Regions from separate parts of the Homo sapiens genome. Here region 2 is linked to region 1. Evidence: promoter capture Hi-C in 16 types of primary human blood cells and fetal thymus (Javierre and others, 2016). All regions are on one chromosome and are shown on one strand. Each heading gives the region's core, a stretch centred on a gene start or on the middle of the fragment in contact. The rest is flanking DNA. Distances are from core to core; before and after follow the strand shown. Region 1 holds the start of NCF4 (neutrophil cytosolic factor 4). Region 2 overlaps CACNG2 (calcium voltage-gated channel auxiliary subunit gamma 2).

Evidence for each region. The method cuts DNA at HindIII sites, captures the fragments that hold promoters and counts their contacts. A CHiCAGO score of 5 or more calls a contact.
Region 2: a contact is called between a fragment that was not itself captured here and the fragment with the promoter of NCF4 in region 1, in 1 of 17 cell types (endothelial precursors). The highest score is 7.8, in endothelial precursors.

Annotation. Positions count from the first base shown.
Region 1 is chr22:36,858,567-36,862,255 of GRCh38, forward strand. It overlaps NCF4 (neutrophil cytosolic factor 4), which reads left to right and starts at 2,440. Exons shown (of 10, transcript NM_000631.5): 1 at 2,440-2,637. The coding sequence starts at 2,606. All of the region lies in intron 1 of NCF4-AS1 (NCF4 antisense RNA 1), which reads right to left. The HindIII fragment of the contact is 9,996 bases long and covers 1-3,689 here.
Region 2 is chr22:36,559,178-36,562,866 of GRCh38, forward strand. It overlaps CACNG2 (calcium voltage-gated channel auxiliary subunit gamma 2), which reads right to left. Exons shown (of 4, transcript NM_006078.5): 4 at 1,680-3,689. Among named protein-coding and RNA genes, the nearest start is that of EIF3D, 32 kb to the left of the region's middle. The HindIII fragment of the contact is 8,480 bases long and covers 1-3,689 here.

The sequences.
Region 1 (3,689 bases), core at 1,190-3,689:
CCGGGGTTTGGAGGGCAAGCCATGAAAATACCTGGGAAGGTAAACTTGAGGGCTTAACCCACCTGAAACACACACATACAGATATACACACTGAAAACGATTAAAAAAGGAATAAGAAATGTCCATGTGTCTAGGCACTTTTATACAGTTTTCTATTAATTCCTACTACAACTCCATTAGGCAAGACTGTTTCACAGATTGGTGAAGAAGAAAGGTTCAAAAAGGACATGTTATCTTGCCTGAGTTCACCTATTATAAATGTACTTGTGTTTATACTCATTTGTCACCGACTGCAACCTAAACATCTAAACACATTCTCTCACAGCCACAATGCCACCACTATACACATTATATGGTCTTTTATAGACACAACACAAATGCACTTACACTTGCCTATGCGAGCTGTATGTGTTTATACACAAATATGTGTTTCCAACTATAGGCATATACTACACACACAGTTTACACAATCACCTACAAATTCTGTATCATGCTTGCTTGCTAAAATTGTTTTGCCACTTCCTGTCCTTCCTGACCAACTGTAGGCCAATGTCCTCCTCTTCCCTCAGTTATGGCTGTGTGCTTGCACCTGTTGGTACTTACAGACACCTGCACTAATAACCCTGCTCTGTGTTTCATTTCATCCTCTAGCCTGGGAGCCCCGAGACACCAGCAACTCATCAGACTTATTGTTTGTATTATTTCTAGTTCTTTGGGTGTGAATTCTTCATGATGTGGAGGCTCTGAGCTGTCTTTCACAGCTCACGATTTGTAGTTTTGGTCTGTGAGTTGACAGAGTAGGCCCTGCAGAGTCACTGACTCCAAGCTGTTTTTATATAATGCCTCAGCTTAGGATTTCTGCACCACGTGGGTAGCTTATATCGGGGCCTTACACCAGTGCAGAGGGCAGGCTTGAGGCTGATCTGGTACACACGTCCCTTGTTCCACCCATGGACTGTGAGAGGACCTCAGCTCCTGCCGTGACTCTAGGCTGATGGCTGAGAAACTCTGTTCCCATAATCAGTTCTGACACCCACTTTACACTGAGAACTCAGATTTGACTTTCTGCTAACAGCAGGACCTGTGGCCTGTACCTAGTCCCAGATTTGGCATTAAAATCTCAGCCCAACAATGCATATCCAATCTTGGTTTTCCCATGGGCTGTTGGCCACGTTCCTCTCCCCCTGGTATAGATTCCTGACCCCTCTCTTTGATCCTACCTAAAAATTATGCTTTCTTGTTTTTTTTAGCTGGGACTTGTATGTTTAAAGTAGTTTAAAACAACTTTCTGCTCTGCATGTATGAATACGAGTGTGTGAGCGTGTGTAGCTGGCAGGGAGTTACTGGGTGTGGCTGTGCCAATGACTCCTGTGGACCTCTTCTCAGAGAAGTCCCTTCAGAATCAAATACCCATACCTGTTAGGAGCTGCAGTCACTGACTGGCAGCGTTTCATTCATTCACTGAATATTGGTTGAGCACTTGCAATGTGCCAGGCACGCTGCTAGCCAAGGAGGCAGTCATTAAACATACAGATAAACAAACAAATGTGAGATGACAATAGTTATGAGTGCTCTGCAGTAGACGTGCAGGGACCTGTGAGAGAATGTAGTAGGGAGGGCCTTAATTTAGGGTGTGTGGTCAGGGAAGGCCTCGCTAAAGATGTAGCTTCTAAGCTGAGATGCAAAGGAGGCAGTGAAGAGCTTTTTCCAGCAGAGGGAACACCATGAGCATAGGCCTTGGGGCGGACGTCTTAGAACATTCTAGAAACGGAAAGGAGGCCAGTGAGAAAAAGGGAGCTCAGGAGCAGAGGCTGGGGAAGGCTGCAGGGCCTCAGGGGCATTGGAGGCAGGCAGGGCAAGGACTCTGGACTTTATCCTGAGCACAGGGTGATGGGGCAGGAGAGTTTAAGCAGGGAGGGTGAAACTCACTCTGATTGGCAGCCCTGTGAAAGAGGATTGGCTGGGCATGGAGATCTAAGGATGAGGAAAGGATATCCCAGAGTGCCAGGGCGCGCAAACCAAACTTCACACTCTAGGAAGACAGAGGCCAGAGGAACCAGGAGGGCTTCCTGGAGGAGGTGGCATTTACTCTGGGCCTAAGAGATCACAGGAAAATGGAGGCCAGCATTCTAGGCCTGGGGAAGAGTTTGGGCAAAGGCTTGGCAGTAAGAGAATAAAGGTGGGGCTTGATGGGCCAGAGGATAAGTGACTCCTCAAGGTCACAAGACACCCTGATGGCTGGGACCCCATCTCTGATGGAGCAAGGCTTCTGATACCCAACTGAGGCTTGGCGCCAAGGACTGACATCAAGGAAGTGGATTCCTGCAAACCTGGCACCCGAGGGTCCACTTCCTCAATTTCTGTGCAGCTGGGAGGTGAGGTAAGAGGAAGTGTGGGCCACAGGCTAGGCCCAGAGAGCCTGGAGGAGGAGCCTCTGCCAGACTGGAGAGAAGCAGGCCTGAGCCTCCCCAAAGGCAGCTCCTGGGGACTCCCAGGACCACAGGCTGAGACGAGACGCAGGGTGGCTGGAGGAAGTGAGAGGTGAACTCAGCCTGGGACTGGCTGGGCGAGACTCTCCACCTGCTCCCTGGGACCATCGCCCACCATGGCTGTGGCCCAGCAGCTGCGGGCCGAGAGGTGAGTGCCGGGGTGTGGCCGCCCCCGGGCCTTCTCACTGCTCCTCATAGGCCTTAGGGACAAAGGCCAGTCCTTCTGCAGTCCCTGATCAACATGAGAGGCTGGGGTTGAGTCAGAACCCAAATACTCAGAAATGCAACCTCTCAGAACTGCTTTAACGAAACTTTGAGCTGTGGCTCACCACCCTCAGACACAAATGAGAACACTGAGGCTCCAAGAGTGGGAGTGACTTGCCCACGGTCACACAACGAGTGACCGGCAGTGTCTGGAGAGGAATGCAGGTGTCCTGGGTCCCAGGCTGGGGCCCTTTGCTTCACATGGTGATCAGCAATGACTTTCCATCTTCTGCGCAAACAGAATTCACAGAATCTGGCTTGTTCTTCCGCTAATCAGGGCTTGCCTCAAATGTCACCTCCTCCAAGAAGCCTTCCTGACAGCCCCTACCTCATTGCTGTCTGACCCTTTGCCCTATTTCCCTTTTCTGCCTGGTTCTTATATTACAGGAATAATATTATATGCTCATTTATTATTTTTTCTTGAACGTTGGCTCCCCCATGAGAAGCAAGCTCCACGAGGCTGTGTCCGTTTTGATCGCTGCTGTATCACTAGGAGGTAGCTCATCCCTATTGAGCACCAGGACCAAGGGCTCAATAAATGTTGCTGAATGAATGAATAAATGAATGAATGAATGGGTGGATCTTTGAGACGGAAAAGGTCTTAGATTCTTCTAGTCCAACCTTGCCATTGTACAGATTGGAAATCTGAGGCCCAGGGAGGATAAGAGACTTACTCAGGGTCACAGAGAGTGACTGGCAAGGTTGGGGCTTGGAGCACGGCCTCACCAGCATCTAGCCTCGTCGCTTGGGAAGCATTTTCAGAATTTTTCCTCAGTAGCCAGGTCTGAGCTCTAAGCTGCGGGGGCCCTGAGGACGCAAAGCCTGGCCCCTGCACCCCCTGGATTGGAACAGCAGGTGACCTCTGTTACCTACGTGGAGGCCACTCAGGGGGTCACCAGAGACAGGCCAGGCTGGTGTGTGCCTACGCGGGGAACA
Region 2 (3,689 bases), core at 381-2,880, 300 kb before region 1:
TCCTGAGGACCCATGTCCTCCTGCCTTAAGCAGTGGTTTTGGGAAAGCTGGGTGTGCAGGCTGGGATGTGTGCCCACTTTGTGGGAGATGCCCTGAACGTGCTGAGTGGAGCTGGAAGTGGGAAAGGAGGAGGGGTGGGTCATGGGCAGGGAGCTGTGGTCTTGGGTTCCAGGGTGGGCTTGCCCCATGCTGCTACTTTGAGGAGCAGAATGCAGAGGAGGTTGAGAATTCTAAATTCAAACCTAACATTTTAGTTTGTCACAAGGACATATTTGCCAGGACAGAGGATAGACCATATTTTTAAATTTTATTTTATATTTTATTTTAATTTTTTTTGAGATAGAGTCTCGCTCTGTCACCCAGGCTGGAGTGCAGTGGCGCGATCTCGGCTCACTGTAACCTCTGCCTCCCGGGTTCAAGCAATTCTCTGCCTCAGTCTACCGAGTAGCTGGGATTGCAGGCGCCCACCACCACGCTCGGCTAATTTTTGTGTTTTTAGTAGAGACGGGATTTCATCATCTCGGCCAGGCCGGTCTTGAACTCCTGACCTCATGATCCACCTTCCTCGGCCTCCCAAAGTGCTGGGATTACAGGGGTGAGCCACCTCGCCTGGCTGATAGACCATTTTTTAAGGTCGTTAGTTCGATGTGCAGCTGTTAAATCTTCAGACTTAAGTTATGGAGAGTGAGCCTCCCTTTCTACTCTTGCCCTGGACCCCACAAGTGTTAGGGGTGAGCCTGGAGAGAGAGATAATTGAGATTGGTGGGGGCTTGGTGGTGTGGCCCCAGCAGACTGAGGCTGAGTTGAACAGGGAGTTTTGAACATTGGACCCTTCTAGAGTAGACTTTTCCGGGCCACGTCATACAGGGCTTACCTTCTCTTAGGTCTGTGCGGTGTGTAGGTGTCATCTGCTTGCCATCTCCTTTCTCTGGAGCCCCAGGAGAGCTGTACAGTGAGTATGCTTCCCCAACACATCTTAGATAGCACTGTTATCTTAGACAGCTGTTTTGGGGCATGACAGGTCATCCTTCCAATGGGGCCTTTCTCTGATGTCAAAGGTCAAATCCTCCTGTTAGCATTCCATCTTGTCTTTCTCATCTCTTCAAGTTAAGAGAGTCCCAGGGACCCTCCCCATTCTTCTGCCACTCCATGGCTCTCCTCTTCCTGAGAAGCACCCCTCTGCAGGGAGCCCCCTGAGTAAACTGGTAGGGTCATGTCCATTCCAAACTGCACAATTTCACGGGGGAAAATGGAAACCCTGGAGTGTAACTGGGATGTTGAGTGGGGCTGCTTTATTCTAAAAGATAAAACTCAAGGACGTCATGCTCTCTGTCTTCAAATATCTGAGGGGCTGTCATGCTGAAAAGGGAAGGGATTTATTCAGTGTTGTTGGAGTGTGAAGGAAGAGGTGGATTAAAATTCAGTGTGCAGAGAAGACTTTTGCCAAAGAGTGCTGCTTAGCACTGGCTGGTGCTATCTTTGGAGGGGGTGAGCCCGCTGTCACTGGAGGCGTGCAAGTATCCCTAAAGGATATTTAATAGGGAACTCATGATCTAGAGAGTGGGGGGACACCCTACTGTACAGCATCTAAACCTCTCATCCCCAATAATCTGTAGCTTTAGGATTGTTTTAAATAGGATGCCAGGAGTTGGGAAAGGAATTAAAGAAATTCACTGAAGTGAGGACCAAGCTATAAAAAAAAAAAATCTTTATTTCATGTACCAGGATTTTTTTTTTCAGTTTTCTGCTTTTTAAAATTTTTTTTCTGTTAACAGTCTGAAAAAAAAAAAAAGGACTCACCAAGAAAATAAATGGAGGTTAGTTTCTTGAACTGGTCTGAGCTGGACATGAGCAATCATCCACACCCCTGGGCAGCAACGCCCTTGCAGTTCCGGTCCTGGCTCCTTCCCTCCGGACCCCCTAGCCCCTTCTCAGCCATGGCGATGTCACCCCACACCCCAGTGGCTTTCTTCAAGCACACCCAGAACCCAGGCCTTGCGCCATGGAAAGAAGCACTGATCGCCTTCCCAGACGCTCTGCCAGAATTCGGAGAACTGGAGCTAGTTTTTCTCTTCAGACAGTGCTCGCTTGGGTGCGGTTTTCTTGGGGACCCTCCCTTCTCCCTTCGCTCTCATCCTTGATCCCTTTAGGTCTGGAATCTGGTGGGATGGCGGGCAAGATTGGGGTGGGAGAGGGGTAGAGTTCAGTTTCTGCCCAGACTGAGGGCAACTTGGTTGTTGTTACCACACCTTGAATTGTCTCCCATTGTTCTGCCCCAGGGCCCATGACCTCCCCCTGTACTTCTGGGCTGGGCTGGCCGATGTTCTGCCCCTTGCTGACCTGGGAAAATAACTTTCCTTTCCCAGGCAAAAGACAGGAAAGGCAGGTGAGATGTGCAAGCTCAAAAAGCCTTACTAGCCATTCTCTAGAACTCCCCAGAGAGCTCAACCTCAGGAAATGCCGGTGTCAAGAAAAATGCAAACCGGGGGAGACTCGCAGGCAGAGGCAGGGGGGCCTCACCTTGACCTTCAGTCACCTGGGAGTAACTTGCAGACTGTTCTGAAATTTCCAGCTCAGGAAAGCTGTTGGATTTCTGTCAGTCTGAACTGGCCCTTGTCACTCTGGGGAAGAAAGGGGAGAAACACAGGATGCCCTTGACCTTTAGTCTGTGGTGCAAGTTTAACTTTTGGGGTTGGTCCTTACACTGGGATGGAACTGCTAAAATTTTCCTCTCCATTCCCTCAGCCTTGAGCCCTCCCAGTAAACCTCAGAGGATCCTCTTTTTCACAGACCCCCAAAGACACTGGGGAAGCCCTGGTGGCAGAGCTCTTCTCCCAAGGAAGCCTCTTTAACTCTCCATGATCGCAGCAAGGGGACACAAAGTGAAGAAGGGCTTTGGGGACCCCTGCGTCTTTCCCCTCTTTGCCTGAACAGCTTTATGTTTGCTCACATGTGTGTATTTTTGCTTTGACATTGGATGTGGGGGCAGGTGTTCGGGGAGCACAGTGAGGAGGTATATGGTGTGTGTGTGTGTGTGTGTCTGAGAGGCTGACTGATGATGAGCCTGGGGGCTTGGTGGCAGCTGTCCTGGTCATCCCTGGCATATCCTCGGGGCAGGTGGCAGATCTTAAGTCACAGATACATAGAGCAAGAATGGGCCTTTAGTGCTTCTCTGGGTCAATCCACATGCTTACATGGGGGGAAAATTAAGGCCCAGAGAGGCCATGCAGCAAGGAATTCCGGAATCCAGTCCTGGATTCTAGACGGGTGCCCTTCCCATGCATGCGAGTGGTGTGTGTGTGTGTGTGGGTATGTGTGCGTGTGTGGGTATGTGTGCATGTGTGTGTTCATGTGTATGCTCTGTTGGGAGGTTGTGAATGAACACAAAGGCCAGTGTGGAGTTGTTGTCGTCCATGGCTTTGGAGGGCATGAGTCAATTTCCTTTGAGCCACGCCCCTGGCCGTGTATGGGATGGAAGGGTTGAGACTGAGTGTGTCCCTGTGAGTGACTGCAGTGCTGGGCTAAGTGGACTGTGTATGTGTGTGTGAACGTGCCTGTGTGCGTGTGGGGTGTGTGGTCTCTTTCTTTGTTGGATTCTGTCTTCCCCCATTCGCAGCACCTTCCTTGTCTGAGGAAGCCACCTTTCCATCACAGAGACCCCCTGCAGCTCACTGGGACCTTCCGCTACT